3 separate regions of the Homo sapiens genome follow, and regions 1 and 2 are each linked to region 3. The links are contacts of gene promoters, found by promoter capture Hi-C in blood cells and fetal thymus (Javierre and others, 2016). All regions are on one chromosome and are shown on one strand. Each heading gives the region's core, a stretch centred on a gene start or on the middle of the fragment in contact. The rest is flanking DNA. Distances are from core to core; before and after follow the strand shown. Region 1 has its middle 34 kb from the start of SNAI2. Region 2 has its middle 13 kb from the start of SNAI2. Region 3 holds the start of CLXN (calaxin).

The links. The method cuts DNA at HindIII sites, captures the fragments that hold promoters and counts their contacts. A CHiCAGO score of 5 or more calls a contact.
Region 1: a contact is called between a fragment that was not itself captured here and the fragment with the promoter of CLXN in region 3, in 2 of 17 cell types (M0 macrophages and M2 macrophages). The highest score is 7.4, in M0 macrophages.
Region 2: a fragment that was not itself captured here is called in contact with the fragment with the promoter of CLXN in region 3 in 2 of 17 cell types (M2 macrophages and M0 macrophages); the score reaches 7.1 in M2 macrophages.

What each region holds. Positions count from the first base shown.
Region 1 is chr8:48,885,532-48,888,924 of GRCh38, reverse strand. No RefSeq gene overlaps it. Among named protein-coding and RNA genes, the nearest start is that of SNAI2, 34 kb to the left of the region's middle. The HindIII fragment of the contact is 3,519 bases long and covers 1-3,393 here.
Region 2 is chr8:48,906,941-48,910,615 of GRCh38, reverse strand. No RefSeq gene overlaps it. Among named protein-coding and RNA genes, the nearest start is that of SNAI2, 13 kb to the left of the region's middle. The HindIII fragment of the contact is 3,669 bases long and covers 1-3,231 here.
Region 3 is chr8:48,733,003-48,736,637 of GRCh38, reverse strand. CLXN (calaxin) reads left to right here and starts at 1,370. Exons shown (of 6, transcript NM_024593.4): 1 at 1,370-1,544. The coding sequence starts at 1,487. RefSeq lists an enhancer at 1,291-1,965. The HindIII fragment of the contact is 1,056 bases long and covers 916-1,971 here.

The DNA of each region.
Region 1 (3,393 bases), core at 386-2,885, 150 kb before region 3:
GCAATGTCGAATTCTTGCTGTGATAGCTCTTCTCCCAGTTTTCACATCAAATGATTAAAGCAAATATGCTTCACAAATGCTAAGAAGTTAAAATTAAAATTACTGCAGGAATTCTGAGAGCTGTTTTCAGCCATTGGCCATGGATGTGACATGGCAATTTTGTAGAGTGAATAGGCCTATAATTTGAAGTTTATGTGTTGCTGGGTAATGATAAGTCAAATGAAATAACATTTTCTAGGAAATTTCAAACTGATAGCTTTGTACTAGTAACAACATAAGTTATATAAGTCACAGATCATGATGTGACTTATGATCATGTTCATTCATAGCTCAATGAACTATGCTTGAATTAGAGAAATTGTTGCTACTTTTTAATGGGTATTTCATAAAGTCCTTTTGTGTGTTTGTTTCAGTATCCCAGGGAACATTACTTTCTGAATTAGTTTTAAACTGGTGAGCAAAGCTACATTAGGATAAGATAGAGAAGCTGGAAAAAAGTGAAAAAACAGAAGAACAGAGGTGGAACCAGTGAGTCAGGAGAGGATGCAGGGCAGGGAACTCCACCCAGGGTGTAGCAGCACTAAAGGGCATCTCTGAGGAGAGGGCACGAGGACAGACTGTTCAGCCAGAACAGAGGATCCCAATGGCAGACGATCCCAAGGGAGACACTTGAGATGATAATGGCAACAGAGCCAAAACTGCGATCCAAGAGCCAGAAGATAAGACGGATGCAGGGGTTAGCAAGAGAGTGACATTCTGCTATATGGACAAGGCCGGGAAGCAGACATTCAGATTCTACTCTAATCTGTGCTTTGCTCACGGTCATCAAAAACTGGCCTCACTAAATCAATAGTTGTGCAAAGTATTAGTCAATGAAAATGCCTAAGCAGGATAAAGAAAGTGGTCATTCATTGTAATTGGAACTTAGTTTGAAGTTCAGCAGTACCACTTATATAGTAACGTATATAGCACTGCTAAGCTCCACACTAAGTTCTGACATTCACACCGACCTCGTGGTGTTCACGACCAGCCCACTGAGATTACCTAGCACAGTGTATTGGAAGGGGATTCATAATAAACACAGCTTACAGCCTATACATACACACACACACACACACAGAGACACACACACACACATCTTGCTGCAATCTTGTGATGAAACTTGAATGGATGAGCAAATAAAGTGGTTTCTTGAGAGGGAAGCTATTCTGGGTGAAGATGCAGTGAACACTGCTGAAAAGACAACAGAGGATTTAGAATATTTCATAAACTTAGTTGATAAAGCAGAAGCAGGGCTTGAGAGAATTGACTCCAGTTGCATCAAACTTTATTGTTGTCTTTTTAAAAGAAATTGTCATAGCCATCCCAGCCTTCAGCAATCCCTACTGTGACCAATCAGCAGCCATCAACATTGAGGCAAGACCCTCCACCAGCAAAAAGATGACAACTTACTGAAGGCTGAGATGATTGTTATCATTTTTTAGCAATAAAGTGTTTTTAATTAGGTATATACTGTTTTTAGACGTGGTACAGCTGCACACTTAATAGTCTATAGTAGAGTGGAAGCATAACTTTTATTTGCTCCTGGAAACCAAAAAATTGTGTGATGCATTTTATTGCAATATTCACTTTATTGTCATGGTCTGGAACTTAACCCACAATATCTCTGAGGTACACCTGTATTTAAGATTAAAGAGTAAGCAGAAGAAAGCAGAGAAAATAAGAAAAATGCATTTTTATCGCAATTAAGATCGAAGTGGAAGCACAGAATGGACCATCAATATTGGAAAAGAGGGGGAAAAGGAGAGAAGAGGAGATGGAAAATGAGAGAAAAAGAGAGAACTAAGAGAAAGAGGCTTTCTCTGTCATGACTTATCTTCTGCATATTCTTAGAAACAGTTTTGCACTGTCCCTCATCTGGAGTATCCTTCTGCAGACTCTATAAACATGTGGTATAGCAAGAAAGCACTTGATTCTGGCTACCTGTCAAATGTTCCATCCACATTTAACTTAATTTAATTTAATTTAATTAACAAAGAGAGCAGAGTGGTCATTCCCATAGTAGTAATAACAGCTTTATGTCAGGGGAATAAGTATGCAGAAGCAAACTACAAGGGAGTACCCTGGGGCAATGCCCACGTTTTCATATTGCTTTCTTTCATTATTTCAATGCCTAGGATTCAACTGCACGGCCTTCTATGATCTATCCTAAAAACTCACTTGGTGCCACTTCAACCATATGCTATAGTCGGAACAACCTAAACCTTGCCCAGATTCACAGGAGGAACATAGGAAGATCTCACTCTCCACGGAAAGAATGCCAAGGTCACATTGTAAAGAAGCCTATAAGATGGGAAATATTACTGTGAGCACCACTGGAAAATACAGTCTACAACAAACATTTTCCAGAAAGCCAAGGAAGCTGTATCTCAGGTACAAGGCAATGATCACTGATGTAAGCCAGGGGGTAGAATCTTCAGGGAAGATCAATGCATGGCTAGAGGACTTCCTGCTGAAAGTCCCTATTTCCTATGGATCTTCAAACTGCTGACATCAGGACTGGATAAGAAATAGGATAATTTGGTTGCAAAGTTCAAAACTTTGGGCTTTGAGACTGTATCAGGGACAATAATACATAAGTGGCCATGAGGAGCACAGGGAAATAGTTAACATTTTACACAAATATGCACGTATTTATTATTCAGTGCTAATGTGTAAGTAACCCACCCTGTCTTTGGCTTTTGCACAACAGCTTCTCAAGATGACAAGAGCCCTCAGAATGTCCACACTTCTGAGAGCTTCGGTATTTTAATCCATTCAATGAGGATAATATAACCTTGCAGTGTATGTTGGTGAATTGATGGATTGATTGATTTAACAACAATTATTGTTGAGTTTTCCTGTAGTTAGGCACTGGTCAAAGCACAGTGGCACAGCAGTTAAAAGATAAATGATGTCCCTACACTCACAGCACTTACATCCTAGTTGCAGAAGCCACATACTAGAAATGTAAAGACAAAAATAAATAAAAACATAAGTTCAGATAATGAAGGTAAGTGCTAGGAAGAAACTGAATGAGGTACTGTGATGGAGAACAGTATATGAAGCTGACCTGCATGAGGTTTTCAGGGACAGACTTTCCAAGAATGTGCTACTTTTATGTTAAGCTGCAAGAATACAGTAGATGCTAAATAGATCAGAGCAATGCTGACAACATTATAAATATGTTCTTGGTTACTTGTTTATATGGTATTTTAAAGTTCAATAGGCTTTTAGGTGATATTGAAAGTCAATATAATAAGGTTGGTCTCTTTTCATATACACATATAAAATAATATGGAAAATCAAACTTTAAGTAGAGGCAGCATTCGACCTAAGGATCTGCAAAAAAGC
Region 2 (3,675 bases), core at 148-2,647, 170 kb before region 3:
GACTTGTGCCTTGGACCTCGACGTTCCTCCTGCCGGTCTGGCGGTTCCTGGAGGCCTCCTGGGCTTCTGCCTGGAACATCTGAGGCAATTCCGGCTGAGAGCGCGGCTTCTGCGGGTCCTGCGCTGGAACCATCATTTTTCTTAAATGTTTGGAATTTTGCCAAAGGGATGTTACCTGATGCATTTTTCTCCAGTTCTCTGATTACTTTTATTCATGTCATTTTATTTTATTCCTTTATTATATATTAACATTAATGCAAATTTGAAAATAAGTTTCGTTGGGGGACATCGTTGTCTCCAAGTTGGTGACAAGCATCTCTTCCCTCTCTTTTAAATGCTTTTATTTCATAACACCTAAACAAGTCCAAAATGCAATAAAATAATAGATAATTAGATAAATAAATAATAGATAATTACGCTTATTAGGAGGTCTGCCACCACCTCAGGTCGTGACTTCCAGGAGGTGGGTGGGAGGAGGCCTGCAGGACCATCGTGCCCTGGAGCTGCTGTTTCTTCCCTCCTCCCCCTGTGCTTGTCCAGTATGGGCTTCAGAGCTGCTCTGAACTCTGGTGGTGACTATAAATTATATGTCCTTGGGGATAAAGACATTCTTCTGAGTACCAGCCTAAAACACACAACTGATCCCTGATGAAGCCTTAGTGACCACTGGCCCCACTTCCCCATCGCTGTGTCAGGAATGAGGCTCACATCCCAGCTGTGCCTTAGCCTGAGGGGTCAGAAGTAGAGCCCTGGCCCCCCTCCATCTTCAGAGATTAGATGGTTTGAAGCAGCCTGTTGCCTCCAGAGAGGAGGAGAAGGGAGGCCCCAGAGGCCATGGGTTGCTCACCCATGGCAGGAAGGAAATCAGAGGAGCAAGGATAGGGTTGCCTCCGAGATGATCAAACTTCAGCGACCATGGGAATCAGCTAGAGGGTGTGTTAAGGCAGGAATTGTTGGGTCCCACCCCCAATTTCTGAGTGAGAGGGTTTGTAATGGACCTGAGAATCTGCATTTCTAACCTGCTCCTGGGGGAAGATGGCACAGCCAGTGTGGGGACCACATTCTGAGAATAACAGAGTGGGAAGTTAGGAGCCAGGACTGAGCCTCTACTGTTGTAGTTAATGATGTGCTGTAAATCACAAGTTTTATACAACTTCAGAATCCCTTCTCTTTCTCCTCTTATTTATTGCATGCCTACTATTTGCCAATCAATCACTGTTAGGTAGTCAGTGAAAAGAAGGATTGAACAAGACCCTTTAGTGAAAAAAGAAAAAAACAGAAACTTTTTTTTTTTGAATGACTTTAAATTCCTTATCAATGCCTTTTTTAAAAAAAGAGTCTACATCACAGGGGCTTTGAAAGAGTTTGAAATCAAGCTGAAAAGATATACTATAAAATATGCAGGGATGGAAGGGGTGTGGAGTAGGGGCTCCCTTACATAATGAAAAACCTTTACATAATGAAAGAAATAAATTATAGCTTGCATAACTATGATGGTTTCTTTATAAAATTAAATTAAGTGAGGATCTGGCTTGTTTTTTGTATCTCAGGGTTTTGAATAATTTTCTTGAGTTCTAGGCTAAAATAAATGAACTTGTTTGCTGTAATGGGGCTTTTCCTGGGAGGATGAGCACTGATCAGCTACAGATTTTTCTCCATGAACACAGCCAGACAAGCCCCTCTTGGATTCTGCTTTTTAAATCAAAAGATGTAAAAGGATCTTTTGTGTTACTGCTTTCCTGAGGCAATAAAAAGGCAATAAAAAAGAATTAGAAGAAAAGATTACTCTAAAACATAACTTTCAGATTTTTTACAATTTAGGAAAATCTCAACAGCTCCAGGGCTGAGTTGCCAGTGGGTGCTGGCTGGACCCAGGGCCAGGCGTGTGTGTCTCCAGGGGATGCCAGCTCCCACCACTGCTCACGCCAAGGATGAAACAGCCCAGGTAATTTTCCACAGAGGTGTCCTGATTGATTTCAAAGGCAGCCATTCTCTTCTTTTCAATTTGGAAAACCTTAAACAGGAAGAGTGCTGCATTTGTAATTGTCTTTCAGAAATTACTTTTGGGATGTTTGAAATAACAGTGGGCAAATATATAATATAATATACCATAATATAACATAATATAATATAATATAATATAATACATATACTATGTTTTTTTAAAAAAACAACTGGTGCAACCATGTTCTAATCCAGGCCATAGTGGTTTTGTTATTTCAGCATAGCAGTTGGAAGATCAGCGCTCTGTCCTCAGACTGGCCTTGTTTCAGGTTGCTGCCTTACCATGTATGTTATGAGGTGGGTAAGCTGCTCTCTGTCTCATCAGCTCTATGGTGGAGACAATTCCTGGACCCAGGTGAGTGGAGGAACTGATGACAAGCACATGCCATGGTGTCCTGCACAGTGGAGCGGAGCTTGGTGTTTTATTTTATTTTTTCCTTAAAGTTGAGCCTGGCTTTTTTTTTTTTTTTTGAAACGGAGTCTCACTCTGTCGCCCAGGCTGGAGTGCAGTGGTGCATCTCTGCTCACTGCAAGTTCCGCCTCCCGGGTTCATGCCATTCTCCTGCCTCAGACTCCTGAGTAGCTGGGACTACAGGTGCCCGCCACCAAGCCTGGCTAATTTTTTGTATTTTTTTAGTAGAGACGGGTTTCACCATGTTAGCCAGGGTGGTCTCCATCTCCTGACCTTGTGATCCGCCCATCTTGGCTTCCCAAAGTGAGCCTGGCTTTCAATCCATACCCACTAACACTCAGAAGAAAGCTGAAATTGTACTTTTTACCTACTGAAAACATTGTCTTACCCCTGCCTACTAGAAAGAGGCATTCATTCTTCTCTCATCAGTCTCTCCTACCTGCTCTTCATCATTGTTTAATACAAAACCACCTGACATTGGCATGATCAGAGAATCAGCCATGTCATTGTCATGGATTTGCGTGTGTAGATAGTATGCATGTACTATCATTGTCTCATTCAGCATGATGCAAAAAGCTGAAGAAGTCAGAATGATGTTTCTCCAATTTATAGACCACTAAAATACACAAATGTCTCTTCATCATCCATTGAGTTTGACAAAACTTTTTACAATTTTGCCTTCTCTATAGTGCATTACATAATGTGTACACTCATTGGGATACATAAACTACTTACGAAATCAGAAAAGAAATAAATATTTTTAAAAGCCCAAAGGACAGAGTTTTATATTTATCTCTTATTCTATGCCCAAAGCTTGAGTCATTATTCTCTTCTTATGAACTTTAGCTGTTATCTGGGTTTATGTTACAGATAAAGTAATTTTTAAAAACAAAGAATCTTTTGTTCAATCAGGAGGGTTAAAAATGATATTTCAGAAGAGAAATGATTTAAAGAAGAGTTGAAAAGGAAGATTAGAACCAGGATTTCACCTATTTTGTTTATGAATACAATTTCCACTGACACCTGTGAATTCCACCTGCCAAAATTTTTGCCTGTGACTGGACATTTTACACAAAGGCAGTAGGCTATGATAACTTCCTGACTCTTTTGTTGAAACTGAAACAAGGTTGTGCTGTGCACAGATGGATACCTCCAGGGATCCTCCACAAGGATCAGGAAGTCAGTATTTATTTAGGAGCCAGAACACCCAAGTCAAGACAAGGCATGGATGGTGGGGCTGGCCTCCGCCTGCCATTCAG
Region 3 (3,635 bases), core at 121-2,620:
CATGGTTAGTAGAATTTTTCTGCCTTCAGTCTAAAAATGCCAGTATGTGTACAATAACATAGTTTGTCATTTTCCCCTCTGAAGTTAAACGAGCAGGCACTCTGGAGAATACTGTAGATTTGGTGATCCTGGCTGAGCCACCCCTTTTTATTGCTGCCTTAGCTGAAAGAGGATATCCCCTCTGTGATCAGGAAAAGCAGAAAGTCCTCCCACCCTGAAGATGTAAGGAATATCCTTTGTCTGCCGGCACAGAACTTGTCTTTCAAATAAGTAAAGGACCAAGGTTGCTGAGATATTTTCCGGAAAAGCAAGATTGGGCTGTACCCCACACCCAAGTGGTGTTGTCAGCCCGTTTTCATTGGGGGGAATGCCTATTTAAGCAGTATAAAAATTCCTCGTGGCTTTCCTCAGATTCCACAGACAACCTCCATCTTTTGGAAGTGAGATGAGGGCAGTGGGAAAAGAAAAAAACTACAGTCACAAGCCACATAGCGCCATTTAAGTCAACATCAGACAACATTAGGACAGTGGTCCCATAAGATGTAACACTGTACTGGAACACTGCACCTTCCCCAGAGTGCTTAGCACTCTGTTTTAGCTGCCTGCAGCATTCCGCGCTGTGACCTGCTGTGCAGGGGTGCAGCCCAGAAGCAATGGGTTGTACCATACAGCCTGGCGTGCAGTAGGCAAGGCCATCTAGGTTTGTGTCGGTGCACCGTGATGTGCACACAGTGATGAAATCTCCTAGTGACCTCGGAACGCGTCCCGCTCCTTAGGCAACCCGTGGCTGTATTCCAATTTCCCCTTGCTCTCAGAAACACAACTAAAAGCTCGAAGACCTCAGGTGACAGACTGCCTCCTGTTACCTCACCAAGACTGAAAACCTAAGCAGTGGCTCCGCCCAAAGAGCAAGCTTCTAGCCCTCTGACGGGAGGCCCGGCAAGATCGTCCTCTGGACAGCACCTTGCTATTTTGTGACGCTGCTCCAGCCCCCAAGATGTCCAAGATCTTGGGCCTTCCCTTGAGGCGTGACGCTCACGACCCGAAACACCTCTCATACAGCGTGCACACCACATTTCAGATTTTAATGATTTACACTGCAATCAAGCAAAGAGGCTGCGAACTCAAAAGCCAGCAACAACTGAACATTTAAACTCCAACGTCAACAGTCAGAATACAGCCCTCAAGGCGGCCAGCTGGGACCCTGCCGGCGGCACCGCGCACCGAGAACCCAGCGCGAGCAGTCGCTGAGCCGATGGGCGGGGCCCAGCTGTAGCTTTGGCTACGTCGCGGGCAGCCTGGGAGCCAATCCGCGGCGGGCTGAGCCGTTGCCTTGGCTACACCGTCTGTTAGGGCCGCGCACGAGATCAGTAACTGAGACCTCACCGCGTTGACCCAGCACCAGGGCTCGCGGGGGTCCCGCGAGGGTCTCGGTAGCCGCGCGCCCAGAGACCCCCGCCGCGGCCCGATTCTCTGAGCGCCAGACATGAACCGCAAGAAACTGCAGAAGCTGACGGACACCTTAACCAAAAATTGCAAGCATTGTAAGTAAGAATGTAGTGCTGGACAGGCCGAGGCTCCTGGACCGAGCCTGGGTCCCACCCCGTGCTAAGGTCCGCTGTTGTGCCTGCTTCCCGCCTGCTGGGACTCTGTGGGCTACCTACCGCCCCTCCACCCCGGCCCCTTAAGCAGAAGTCAGAGAGGGAATCCCGGGGTGCCAGCTCCTTGCGTTTGATCTTAGGAACCCAGGCCTCCGCCTCTGGTGCTACCTACACTCCCACACATGCATTTACTTGCTTCTCCAACCCTCTTCTTTTACCTGATAGAAACATGTGATGTTAGCCTCAATGAGGTGTAAAATAAATGCTAAAACCAACTGGTCTCAAGAAAAGTAGCACCACCAAGGTAGACCGTGCACTCACCCTGCTTTATAGCTCGCACATACACCCGCAGGTCCAAGTTCTGGAAGCTTACCAAGAGACCCATAGGAGAAAACGGTGCTCAACTTCTCAACATCTTTCGGAGAGATGAGTTGTGTCATCTCATCTGTGCCTCAGAACAATATTTGTTTGGAAACCAGAGTTCAGCACAACTAAACACGTGGTAAAGAATGGGTTCCCAACTTTAGACTCCCACTTTCCAGTGGCCCCTGGTGTTGAAAGATAAAGGAGACTTTGCAGGTGACAAGATGAGCCCTATTTGAAGGCACCTGCTCTAATCTCGCATTTGAAAGGGTGGTCCTAGAATTTCATAGGAAACTTTGAGTTTATATTCAGACTGAAAAACATAATTGCACTTTAGCAAGGAAGCCGTGGGTATGGTTTAGATGAGGAAGATAATTTCCTGTCGAGCAAACTTAGAAGTTGTGTGTGCTAATTGCAAAACTACTGGCCACTTGAAGAAACAGAAGCAACAATCCCCCAAATAACCGAGTCGCTCAAAAAAGAAGGAATAAACATGTTGATGTAGTTTTAGAGATTGTAAGATCTAGTGCATTCTAATTATCATTAGTATCTGATTTAATACCTGGTAAGAAATGCTCTCTTAGTGGATGGTGATATAAATGAATATTATGGTGTGTGTACGCATCTTAAAATGTTTAGGAAAAAAATCCTGTAATTTAAGATATTATTATGACTACTATACTCTGATGAGGGTTTTGTTCTGTTATTGTTTTTCTTAAAACACTTTCATTTCTGGGAGAATAGGTATTCTTCTAGTAAACATCTAGTAAACATTTTTGATAAATATTCAAAAACAATGCAATAGCTGCTATACACAATACTGATTTTGTCCCTTTCCGTAAGTTTGAATTTGATTTAGTCTCTGTTCGGTAAGTTTGAATGCATTGCAGACAATCATTCTGTGAACAATCAAAAGGTGAGTGTATATTTTTAAAGGTAAGTAAAAATATGGCAGGAAAAAGTCTGCTCTTGATTTTTTTGTTTACTAAAAAATTTTCAATGAGTCTTACAAACTTAGATGATTATTAGTTAAAGTCTATAGAAATAGTTATACGTCATGGACATTATAATAATTTTAAATTTTCTTTAACGGAAGAACTTTCCCCTAAAGTTAAATTTTGTTTTAGTTGCAAGACAATAAAGCTATCAAGATTCAATGGATAAATTTTGTAGAATCAAAGAAGAGTGAAAGATCTTAAGAGAACATCTAGTTCATGCACTGTTCTACAGATATGTTCTGCAGGACACATTCACAGCATTCCAAGAAGATGAAAACCTATTCTTGAATTTTCTTGTTTCATTTAGTATTGTATTCTAGAATTTAAGAAATGTTTAGCAATAAAAGTTTTCTTATGGCTAACCTTTGATCCTTTGGGTAATAAATTAAACTAGTTTTTAAAAATTTTTATTTCAGCTGAGATGGAAAAATGGCTAACCAACATCCCCTCTGCTACCATTTTATGTACATGAACAGAGTACATCATTCTTCATGCAGGCTTTTCTTCCGCAACAACTAACAGCTCTTGCTTTTTAGGAGGTTTGTGTGTGTGTGTGTATGTGGTTACATATAACATGAAATTTACTATTTTAACCATTTTAAGTGCTTAATTTCATGGCATTAAGTACATTCACACTGTTCTGCTTGCAACACCACCATCCACCTCCGTAACT